Regions from separate parts of the Homo sapiens genome. Here region 2 is linked to region 1. Evidence: promoter capture Hi-C in human tissues and cell types (Jung and others, 2019). All regions are on one chromosome and are shown on one strand. Each heading gives the region's core, a stretch centred on a gene start or on the middle of the fragment in contact. The rest is flanking DNA. Distances are from core to core; before and after follow the strand shown. Region 1 holds the start of GTSE1 (G2 and S-phase expressed 1). Region 2 has its middle 13 kb from the start of WNT7B.

Evidence for each region. Contacts are between HindIII fragments. The study calls those that stand out against the background at their distance.
Region 2: a contact is called between a fragment that was not itself captured here and the fragment with the promoter of GTSE1 in region 1, in 3 of the 25 tissues and cell types used here (dorsolateral prefrontal cortex, mesenchymal stem cells and spleen).

The regions. Positions count from the first base shown.
Region 1 is chr22:46,294,600-46,300,419 of GRCh38, forward strand. GTSE1 (G2 and S-phase expressed 1) reads left to right here and starts at 2,271. Exons shown (of 12, transcript NM_016426.7): 1 at 2,271-2,332; 2 at 2,781-2,880. The coding sequence starts at 2,802. GTSE1-DT (GTSE1 divergent transcript) reads right to left here and starts at 2,061. Exons shown (of 1, transcript NR_024009.1): 1 at 544-2,061. RefSeq lists a silencer at 2,329-2,528 and an enhancer at 2,679-2,788. The HindIII fragment of the contact is 16,228 bases long and covers 1-5,820 here.
Region 2 is chr22:45,987,665-45,993,484 of GRCh38, forward strand. No RefSeq gene overlaps it. Among named protein-coding and RNA genes, the nearest start is that of WNT7B, 13 kb to the left of the region's middle. RefSeq lists enhancers at 1-197, 4,899-5,398. The HindIII fragment of the contact is 8,090 bases long and covers 384-5,820 here.

The DNA.
Region 1 (5,820 bases), core at 1,021-3,520:
GGCTGAGGCAGGAGAATGGCGTGAACCCGGGAGGCAGAGCTTGCAGTGAGCGGAGATCGCGCCACTGCACTCCAGCCTGGGCGACAAAGCAAGACTCCGTCTCAAAAAAAAAAAAAAAGAAAGAAAGAAAAGGGGTAATTATAGTAGTATTTCCAGAGAGGCGCCTTCTCTACCCAAGAACTAGGGACACATCCTAAGGGGAGCCTCCTTCCCCTCTCCTGGTTCCAAGCAAGAAGACATGACTTGGCTGTGCAATTGGGAACCCTGGTCCCTCCTCCAGGAAGCCTTCTACCCGCCAACCCCCACTGCAGGCTGGTGAGGGTGCTGCCTCTGTGCCCCTCAGCCCTTGGCACTTGCCCTTGCTCTTGCACCCCTGCCATGACCTCTCCAGGTCAGGGACAGCATCTGTCCCCAGCATCACCTGGCACATGGCCTGCACTGAGTAGCTGTCAGTGAAAGTTGGTGAATGAAGGCATAAATAAATGAAGTCAAACTCTGTATTAGGCCTTCTTGCATTGCTATGAAGAAATACCTGACGCTAGGTAATTTATAAAGAGGTTTAATTGGCTCACAGTTCTGCAGGCTTTTCAGGAAGTATGGTGCTGGCATCTGCTTCTGGTGCAACCTCAGGAAGCTTAAGATCATGACATAAGGTGATGGGGAGCCAGTATATCACATAGTGAGAGCAGGAGTAAGAGAGAAGGGGAGGTCTTAGACTCTTAAATAACCAGATCTTGTGTGAACTAAGCAAGAACTCATCACCAAGGGGATGGTGCTGAACCATTCATAAGGGATCTGCCCTCACGACCCAATTACTTCCCACCAGGCCCCACTTCCAACATTGGGATCACATTTCAACATGAGATTTTGAGGGGACACACATCCAAACTACAGCAAATCCTATTGGGGGCAGAAATGAATCTGCCATACATAGGCCACACCTACTATGTGCTGACATGATACAGGGAGAGGAGTATCAGGAATGACTGTTGGGGATCCCTCTGCCATTCTCCCATGAGCAGACATCCCCAGGATGAGCTGAGGGGAATGCAATGAGCAGGCCAAACTCTTTCCAAGCTGTTTGACCACACCCACCTACCCCAGCACTCTCAGCCCCTGCCTGGTGCCCTGTGCTGAGCTGGGTGAGGCTGGGGAGACTGGTGAGTGAGGGCTGCCCTGCCCTTTTTGAGCCCCCAGTCTTCTGGTGAAGGAACATAGCAACATGGAGTGATTGGTATGGATGATGCAAAACCAGGGACATGGGACCCAGAAGTGCCCGAGCCAGCCTGGAAGGCCTCTGCCCTGGGCCCCGGGTGGCTGTTTGCTGCACAGCTCTCCCCACAGCCTGCCCCAAATAAACAGCTTATCTTCGTCCCTGAAAATGGTGCTCTCGAGTTCCATCCTTTTCAGAGCGGGTCCTCCCAGACTCCTCTTCCTGCATCCTCCTCCATCCCGCTTAGTGACACTTTGCCGTGGGTGGAGCCCCTCATTTGATCCTCAAGCCCCCGAGGTGGGTATTATACCTCGTTCGCAGGCAAAGGCTCAAGCGAGGTCAGTCTTAAGTTGCTGCCCACTGACCCGTCTACCAGTCCTGTCCTTGCGTCTCCATGGCTCAGGTCAGGGTTATCCTATCTGCTTCCCACCTCTCTCCAACACATGCACTCCCCAAGGCAGGCTCCATCACCGGGCCCCAGCCCCTGGCTCTCTCCTCCAACGCAGCTCCCCAGCCGGCCTGTAAAACCGAGGACAGGCTCCCGCCACGCCCTCGGCGGTCCTCAGGCCTTGGCGGTTGGGGAAGCCCGCCAAGGGCGACGGTTCCCCTCCAGCCCCACAGGCTGTGCAGCTCCGGCAATGAGTCTCCCTCAGGTCTCTGGGTCAGCCGGCGCCCCAGTGCGTGCCTCGGGGGCAGGGATCCCGGCTTTTCACTACTGTTAGTAACAGCTCGCGCGCGCTGCTTCACAGCAGGTGGGTGAGCCTACTTTTAGTCTTCCCATCGACACCCTTAGATGGCAGTTTTAACTTTCTCCCTACACACAAGGAGCTGCTATACATGGTTCCGGCTTGACGCGGATACCTAGTGACACTTGGCGGCCAGGCCGGGCAGACTTCCGGGTGGGTGATCCCTGGCGCTGTGCGGAGCCATTCGCTGCGCTGAAGCAGTGCGCATGCGCACTGGACGCTTCTTACCAGCGTCCTGACTACAATACCCAGGACGCACCCAGCCCGCCGCCTCTCGGAGCCCTTTTCAAACCGACCAATCGGCAACCCGCGTCTCCCGGCGCCGCGTTTAAATCCGTGCCGGAGGCGCGTCCTGCATCGTCTGCCGCTTTGGGTAAGGTGGGGTCAGGGTCGGGGGCGAGGCTTGCCCGGTGGGCCCGGTGCGGCGCGGTGCCCGCCGTTTTCGGGACGGGGAGGGGCCGCGCCCCGCCAGGAGCCGGGCCTGGGCTCGAGCAGGGGTCACTGAGGCCCCTCGCGCCGTGGTCGGGGATGCCGGGAGGTCTAGGGCTGCCCCCCAGGCAAACAGAGCCCCCAACACTCTGGCCCAGAAGCCGAGAATTCCGTTATCTCGTCTGATGGCGTTCGGGCTGACTCCCGGCCTGGCGGCACTCGGGCCCTGGGGTCCCCTGGGATGCGATCATTTCAGAGCGGCCCCCGCGCCGCCTCTCCCAGACCTGGCCGCGGCCTTCAGCTCTCTCTGCCTCTGTGAGCCGAGGGCTGAAGGAAGCCGGAGCCCTGGGCCCTGACACGTACTCACTTTCTGGCCCCGTTCCACCCTGCAGTGACTTCTGACAGCTCTCTCCATGGAAGGAGGCGGCGGCCGCGATGAGCCTTCAGCCTGCCGGGCAGGGGACGTGAACATGGATGACCCTAAGAAGGAAGGCAAGTCCTTGCTGCTGCGGCGCTGTTGTTGTTCAGGATGTTCAGTAGAGATGGAGGGTGATTTAATGTTTCCCTGAGAAATTCTTTCTCAAGTGCTCGACTTGTACTCTGCACCTGTGAAACACATGACATCTGCCTTCGTTTTCTGGTTTTCTTTCACCTCCTCCCCATTTTAAGTTTCATCACAGCCAGGATTCTCATCCGTTTTATTTACCGCAGTGCTCCCATGCCCTGAACAGCACCTAACACTTTGTGGGCTCTCAAATATTTATTGTATTGAATTCGATGTTTTCTTTTTTGTTTGTCGCTGGTTTCTGTTTGCTAAGACTTATTTAGGATCTTTGAGACCATGTTAATGAGTAAGCCTGGCCCCAAACCCCTTTCTTCTTGTGTCTTTGACTGGTTTGGGTATCAAGGTGAGGGTACAGCTTCACAGAATGAGTTACAGGCCACACCCTCTTTTTCTCTCAAAGCGTTTTTATTTATTTATTTATTTATTTATTGACGGAGTCTCGCTCTCTCACCCAGGCTGGAGTGCAAAGGCGTGATCTGTACTCACTGCAACCTCTCTCTCCTGAGTTGAAGGGATTCTCCTGCCTCAGCCTCCCTAGTAACTGGGATTACAGGCACCCGCTGCCACACCTGGCTCATTTTTGTATTTTTAACAGAGACGGGGTTTTGCCATGTTGCCCAGGCTGGTCTCGAACTCCTGAGCTCAGGCAATCTGCCTGCCTCGGCCTCCCAAAGTGCTAGGATTATAGGTGTGAGCCACCTCACCCAGCCTCACAAAGCATTTTGACATCCCTTGGGTAGTTTTCTCACACTACCCAAGGATCCTTTCTTTTTGAGACCAAGTCTCACTCTGTCTCCCAGGCTGGAGTGCAGTGGCATGATCTTGGCTCACTGCAACCTCTGCCTTTCGGGTTCAAGCGATTCTCCTGCCTCAGCCTCCCGAGTAGCTGGGATTACAGGCACCCGCCACCACACCTGGCTGATTTTTGTATTTTTAGTAGAGATGGGGTTTTACCATGTTGGCCAGGCTGGTCTCAAACTCCTGACCTCAGGTGATCCACCTGCCTAGGCCTCCCAAAGTACTGGGATTACAGGTGTGAACCACCGCGCCTGGCCCCAAGCATCCTCAATGCCTCCATTTTGCAGGAACTGTCCTGGAGACTTTACAAATCAATGTTGCATCTTCATATCTAGCAAGGCGCTTGCCTCTGCACCCCTCTCCTCCTTCCTGTCATGTCCTTCCTTTCAAATATGTCCTTTCCACGTGCATACTGCACCCCCTGCTCCTTCTTGAGGCCTTCCCCACTTCCGTTGACCTGACTTCATTTCCTTACTTTTCCCCTGTCCACTACTGGATCATGCGCATCCACATACAGATAATGTTCCCTTGTCTCACTTGTCGCCACGTCTCCTCCGTTGCCTCTCCATTGCTGTGTTTCTCCTTCCAAGCCAAACTTTGAGAGCTTTCTCACTTGTTATGCCATTTTTTTCCGCCTCTCAATCCCTCCCATTCCGGCTTCTGTCCTTACCACTCCATTCAAGCTGCTTTCATCAGTCGTTGACGACTTCCACATTGCTGAATCTCTTTTCACTTTTCTATCGCCAGTCAGCTTTTCAGTAACATTCGTCCTTCTGGAAACTTCCCTTGCTTGGAGTCCAAGACGCTCTTGGTTTTTTCCTCCTGCCTCTCTGGCTGGTGTATCTTTTCTCTGTCGGGGGCTCCCCCTCTGCTGTCTTCTGAGGCTGATTTCCCCAAGACCTGCTCTGGGACCGCTTTGTGCTTTCGCCCTCAGGGCGGTCAGCATTCCAATAGCTGTGCAGCGTATCTGCTCTCTGCGGCACCCACGTTTTGTCTTGAGCGCAGCCTCTCCTCCGAGCTCTGGGCTTGTATATTCACCTGCCTATTTGGCGTCTTCACATGCACGTCTCATCTCAAACTTGGCATACCCCCTCTGCATCTGCATACCCTGTTCTTTTTGTCTTTCTCATCACCCATTTTATTTCTCCATTTCACCCAGCTGTGCAAGCTGAGAACCTCCTACATTCATGCCATCACCAGCTAACGTCTTCTCCACCTTCAGAAGATATCCTGAATCCATCTACAGACTCTCCATCTCCATCCACATGCTGCTGTCTGGGTCTCAGCCACGCTGTCTCACCGGCTTCTACTTCCCGTTGGCTAATATGTGCATTTGTAATGTCAGGGGATATTATCTGCTTCCTTTCGGATACACTTTCTACACAGTAACGTCACCTTTTAAAAACACAAGTTAGATTATAAAGCTCTTTTCTTTTCTTTTTTCTTTTTCTTTTTTTTTTTTGAGACAGAGTCTCACTGTTGGCCAGGCTGGAGTGCAGTGGCGTGATCTCGGCTTACTGCAACCTCCGCCTCTTGGGTTCAAGCAATTCTCCTGCCTCAGCCTCCTGAGTATCTGGGACTACAGGCGCCCGCCACCACGCCCAGCTAATTTTTTTTTTTTTTTTTTTTTTTTTAGTAGAGATGGGGTTTCACTGTGTTAGCCAGGATGGTCTCAATCTCCTGACCTCGTGATCTGCCCGCCTGGGCCTCCGGAAGTGCTGGGATTACAGGCATGAGCCACTGTGCTCAGCCTTTTTTTTCTTTTTGAGATGGAGTCTCGTTCTGTCACCAGGCTGGAGTGCAGTGGCGACATCTTGGCTCACTGCAACCTCCGTCTCCTGGGTTCAAGTGATTCCCCTGCCTCAGCCTCCTGAGTAGCTGGGATTAAAGGCATGAGCCACCGTGCCCAGCTAAGTTTTGTATTTTCAGTAGAGACGGGGTTTCACCATGTTGGTCAGGACGGTCTCGAACTCGACCTCAAGTGATCCGCCTGCCTCAGCCTACCACTGTGCTGGGATTACAGGCATGAGCTACCACGCCAGGCCTAAAATTCTTTTCTTAAAGCCCGG
Region 2 (5,820 bases), core at 3,179-5,678, 300 kb before region 1:
GGGACGGGTCCCCCGTGAGGCTCCACCTTTAGGGCCAGGGAGGGCCTGAAGGCTGGAGGCTGGGCTTCCAGTCCCACCAACCTGAATGGGAATTTGTGGTGCCTTTTCTGGGCCTGCCCATGGCTACCCATGGACCAATCTGCATGCACTTTCTCCCCTCTGAGGCCCATAAAAACCCTGGGCTCAGCCAGAGCTGAGCAGATTACAAGTTGATCAGCTGCTGAGAGGAGCTACCCTCTCTGCTGAGAGCTTCAGAGACCTGAGGAGATGTCAGAATAACCTGCCTGCAGAGAGGCACTACCCTCTCTGGGGCTTCCTCTCTGCGGAGAGCTGAACACTCGATGGGACAACCTGCCTAGAAAGAGGAGCTACCCACTGCAGGTCTCCTCTGAGCTGTTCTAATACTCAATAAAGCTCCTCTTTGTCTTGCTTACCCTCTACTTGTCTGCATACCTCATTCTTCCTGGATGCAGGACAAAAACTCAGGCAAAGACGCCACTGGTCACAGAGGTTTCCAGCTAAAAAGACGACACCCAAAAGATCCTGTAACACCAGGAGCTAGCATGGGTTCACTGGGAATGAAATGTGTAGGCTCCCTGTGACTTCTGACCTCTGTGAGGGTCATGAACCCAGGAGGTGAGGCATTTGACAGGGAGGCTCGGGACTGCCTCATAGACAAACTCACATCACATCTTCTATGTTAAAACAAATGCTCTGTGTCTCTAACAAAAGTCCTCTCCAGGACCAGGAGAGCTGAGGTCAGGCTGCCCAGCACATCCAGCTGCACCTTGACCAAAACTCCAGGCTGCCTGAGCCTGGCAGTCAGCCGAGAGAGGAGGTGATGAGGGCCAGGTGTGCTGAGTGAGGCTGAGGCAGGGGCGAGCCCCCATCTCTGCAGATGAGGATCTGGAGTCCAGGTGAGGCCTGGTCTGCGCTTGTCCATGAACCCCTTCCTCGGTAGGAGAGCCAAGGACCTGAGTCTGGAGAGGGATGCTCCTGGCCCTCCCTGACCCCAACATACAATCACTCCTCGCCTGTGGCAACCGACCAGCACCGCCCTGATGGGGCAGCTCCAGGACCCTGGCTAAGCTGGGTTTGCTGGTGGGCAAAAGCAATGTGCCCTGGGCAGTCCTTTACCTCCTCCTTCCATGAGGGTCACTTTGACCTCCACCCTGCACTGATGACTGCTGGTGGAAGATCCAGGTTTGAGCTTTGAGGGAGGAGGAGGGAAGGCCCTTTCCAGTGCCTCCCACCACAGAATGAAGAGTCCTTTGATTTCCTGCTTGAGTCCCCCATGGGGAGAAGATGGATGCCCAAGGCTGAATCTGAGCCTTCCAGAGTTCCCTGCATAAAGCCCACCCTCTAAAAGTGCCACGACCCAGTGGGACTAACCTAGCACATGATGCCAGAGTGCCCAGCACCCAGGGCTGAGGCTGGGTTAGGCCACAAAGGCCACCGAAAGCCAGGCCACCATTTGGACCTCATCCTTCTAGGCAAGGGCCCGACACCGAGCACTCAGCTGCCTGTCTCCGCTGGGGCTTCTTGTGGCTGCACCATGGGCATTCAGGGCAGGATCGTTCCCTGTGGTGGGGACCGTCTGTGCCCGGTAGGATGTTCAGCAGCGTCTCTGGCCTCTGCCCACTAGACGCTTTTAGCACACAGCATCCCCTGAGGTATGACAACAAAACGTATCCCCAGACATTGCCAAATGTCTCCCGGGGAGCAGAATTGGCTCCAGTTGAGAACCACTGGTCTAAGATATGAGCGTTGGACTTTTTGGTGTGGAGGACCCAGATTCTATTCATCCTGTTTCGTGGACACCCCCAGGACAGGGACCGGGTGGCCAGGCTTAAGCTGAGCCACAGGCACATCTGAGCTCCTGCTTGCAGGAATCAGAACAGCCCAAATAAACAATTTCGTTTTAAGCAAACCTGCAGCCACGATCCTACCTGTCAGGGTGATCTCCTGAAAGTCATGGGGTGTCTGTTTTAGTCTTGGGCACCAAGAGTCACAGCCCCAGGGCTGACCACTGATGGCATCGACGCCTGGAAACTGGCCTGCTTCCCCCACACCACACAGGACCCATGAACGACCAAGAACCACTGATCTGGTCTGAACCTCTTGCTTTAAGGGTGGGAAGGCCGAGACCCAGGGAGGCTGCCAGGGTCACACAGTCATCAAGCAGGGGTTTGAGCCCCAGCATGCTAGCCCCAGGAGCCAGGAACTCTGGTGCTGACAGTGGGGTTCCCCAGGGCTGTTTCGCCATCTCCTACTGGGTGACTACAGCTGGCAGATCTGGCATCAGACCCACGGCCTGGGGTCCCTGGCTGGACCATACAATCTTCCTTCCCTGCAGGGGCCGCCTAGGGAGGTTGGCACACAGACCTGGACTCCTTAGCCCCTCTCCACAGGGGTCCCCATTTCAGCCTGAGAATGCACACAGGCCATCAGGAGGCAGTGGCCAGGGCGTGAGGGTGGGCTCCAACCCAGGCCCAGAAAATGCCTTCATAGCTGTAAGGCTATACAGCTGCGGAAGACTTCGGGCAACAGCTCAGACTGAGTCCAATTCGAACCCGGGCCTTCCGTGTACACGCCGTGGGATTCGGGCAAATCATTCCTCTCCAGGACACCTCAACCAAAGGTGTGAATGTCCACATCACCGGGAGGTTTAAGGAGGTAACACCATCTACCCAGCAGGGTGCTGGGGGGCCTCCTCGGGAGCTGTCACAGCTGATCCTGGGTCCACAGTGAACAGAAAGTGGGTGTTGGGGGCAGAGTCTGGAGACGGGGACAGTGGACCACCAGGCTCTGTGACCCCGAGCCTCAGCTTCCCCATCTGTGAAAGGACACCCAGCACCTTGATCTGTGGGCGCATGAAGCCCTAAGTGAGGGCCTGGCACACGCTAAGTGTTCAGCTCAACCAGCGAGTCACACTAACTGCGGAGACCAGGGCATTGCCAGGATTACTGGAGTTTGAAGGCCACATTTGCAGTGATCCCACCTGGGCTGGGGCTGATTGCTCTTCAGAGTTGCTGTGCCCAAAGGAGGGAGCAGATGGCACGTCAGGGAGGCAGCCCAGCCGTCACCCCCTTCAGGTGGGCAGCCAGGGTCCCTAGGGAGGCGCTAGGTGGAGGGCATAGGTGAGACACCCCATGGAAGCAGGCAGTAAGAAAGTCCAGGCCAAGGCCAGGGACAGGGCCTAACCTCTGAGACAGTGGGTCCTGCCCATGTACCCTATTTCCTGGCTGCCTGAGACCACAAAGAGCTGCAGCTCCCGAACACTCCCCACTTCTAATGCACTCTTAGCTGTACCCTGAGTGCAGCATCCTGGGCCACCTCTCAGCGCTTGAGGTGCCTTTGCCCTCCCTGCCTGGTGGGAAATGGGTACATACAAGTCCCTGGCAAAAGGAGGGGCTGGGGCTTTTATAACACTCTTTTCAGGAACTGGAGCCAACATACAAAGATTTTGAGGGGTGGGAATCATGACACATATCAACATGCCTCAAATATACACATCAAGCTAATTTCCTCACCAGTTAAAGTGGCTGAAATGTGGTCTTCTCATTGAGCCAGGCCAGGAGGAAACTGATCCGGATCCCAGGAGATTAAAACACGTGCAAGTCAAACGGAAAGCTCAGAGAGTGCTGGCTGGGTCCTGAATTGAATTATGTTGCCTACAGCTGGTGCTGTAGTCGTAGGGCACTGCGGACCACTGAGTTATTAAAACAGATATATTACTGCACAGGATCCATCCAGCAGGGCTGTTTCTGGTGGTGGAAACTTTTTTTTTCTTTAGACTGAGTCTCACTCTGTCGCGTAGGCTGGAGTGCAGTGGCGTGATCTCAGCTCACGGCAACCTCCGCCTCCCAGGTTCAACCAATTCTCATGCCTCAGCCTCTCCACTAGCTGGGATTACAGGTGCACGCCATCACACCTGGCTAATTTTTGTATTTTTAGTAGAGACGGGGTTTCACCATGTTAGCCAGGCTGGTCTCAAACTCCTAACCTCAGGTGATCCACCCACCTTGGCCTCCCAAAGTGCTGGGATTACAGGCGTGAGCCACCACGCCCGGTCTTTCTCTGGGCTTTTAAAAGTTCCACCAGGGCCAGGAGCAGTGGCTCACACTCCTCCTAAAGTACTCCCAGTACTTTAGGAGGCTGAGGCATGTGGTTCACCTGAGGTCAGGAGTTTGAGACCAGTCTGGCCAACATGGTGAAACCCCATCTCTACTAAAAATACAAAAATTAGCTGGGCGTGGTGGCTCGCACCTGTAATCCCAGCTAGTGGGGAGGCTGAGGCAGGAGAATGGCTTGAATCCGGGAGGCAGAGGTCGCCATGAGCCGAGATCATGCCACTGCACTCCAGCATGGGTGACAGAGTGAGACTCTGTCTCTAAAAAATAAGATAAAATAAAAGCCCAGAGAAAGAGCTGCAGACTTTATGAGACGCTAAGATTTCCTTCACTCCCACCAGGACCTGTGGCACAGGCCAGGCAGGCATGGAAAAGGCCAGATGAGGGACAGGCAGAGGGGCCCACAGTTATATCCCGGCGGGGAGAGCATGGGCAAGCTTCTAGCCTGTCGAGGCAGAATCTTCGCCCATTTGGGCCAGGGGCTCATTCACCAGGACTGGTGGCAGAAGGAGACGGAGGGGTGGCATCAACTATGTTCGATGGGCAGGCCATGCTGGCCGGGTCCCAGGGCCTTGGGGAGAAATCAGCCTTCAAAGGAAAATGCCACAGAAACTAACAAGAGCCCAGTGCCATGAGAGCCCCAGGGAGACAGGCAGCGGGCAGGGGTGTTCGGGGAAGGCTTCCTGGAGGAAGACAGCCATTGCTGAGCCCTGAAGGGTGAGCCAGGCAGACAGTCCAAGAAACCGTCTTCCTGGCTGAGGGACGGCACGGAGATGAGCAGGAGCAAAGCCTGCTGAGCCACGCATGGGGCCACACAGCCATCGGCTTCAAACCGGCATTGGGTGAGTGGCCTTCTCCCAGAAGTTTCAGTCTTTTGCTCTAAAATGGGGTGATAGGGCCTGCCCTGTCCCCATAGGGCCCCTGCAGGCACTTCCCTGGGGCTCCCAGGAGCATAGCCCCTGCACCCACCCTCATCAAACCGACCTGCACTGAGCTCCAGCCCTGGTTTCCACTACCCTTTGTCCCTATTGATCCCTCATGCTCTCTTTGGGGCACATTGCCTAGATCACCCTCCTCCAAACTTCTCACCAGGAAACTCCTCTTCAGCCTACTGAGGTGGCTGGCACCTCCTCCAGGGAGCCCTCCTGGTTGTTCAAGGTAACCTTAGATGCTCCCTTCCCTTGCCTCCACACACCTTCTGCCTTCCCATCTCAGCCTGGACCCACTGCACAGTGTCTGTCTCTGTCTCTTCAGGAGCAGCTTCTGGGAAGGTCTTGGGCCAGTGCTGTTGCACTCTACCTTCCCCTAACACCTCGAGTGCAGAGCGGTGCCTGAGGTACTTGTGGGAGACACACAAACATGGCCGCGGCTACCATGGGCTACCCAGTGATGACCATTGAGAGGGCTTCTTTGGCAAATGTTGTTGTTCTTGTTAGCGATGATGATGGTGGTGGTGGTAGTGAAGGTGATGGTGGAGGTGATGGTAATGATGGTGGTGATGGTAATGATGGTGGTGATGGTGACGATGGTGGTGGTGGTGGAGGTGATGGTGGAGGTGATGGTAATGATGGTGGTGATGGAATGATGGTGGTGGTGGAGGTGATGGAATGATGGTGGTGATGGTGATGCTGGTGGTGATGGTGGAGGTGATGGTAATGATGGCGGTGATGGTGATGATGGTGATGAT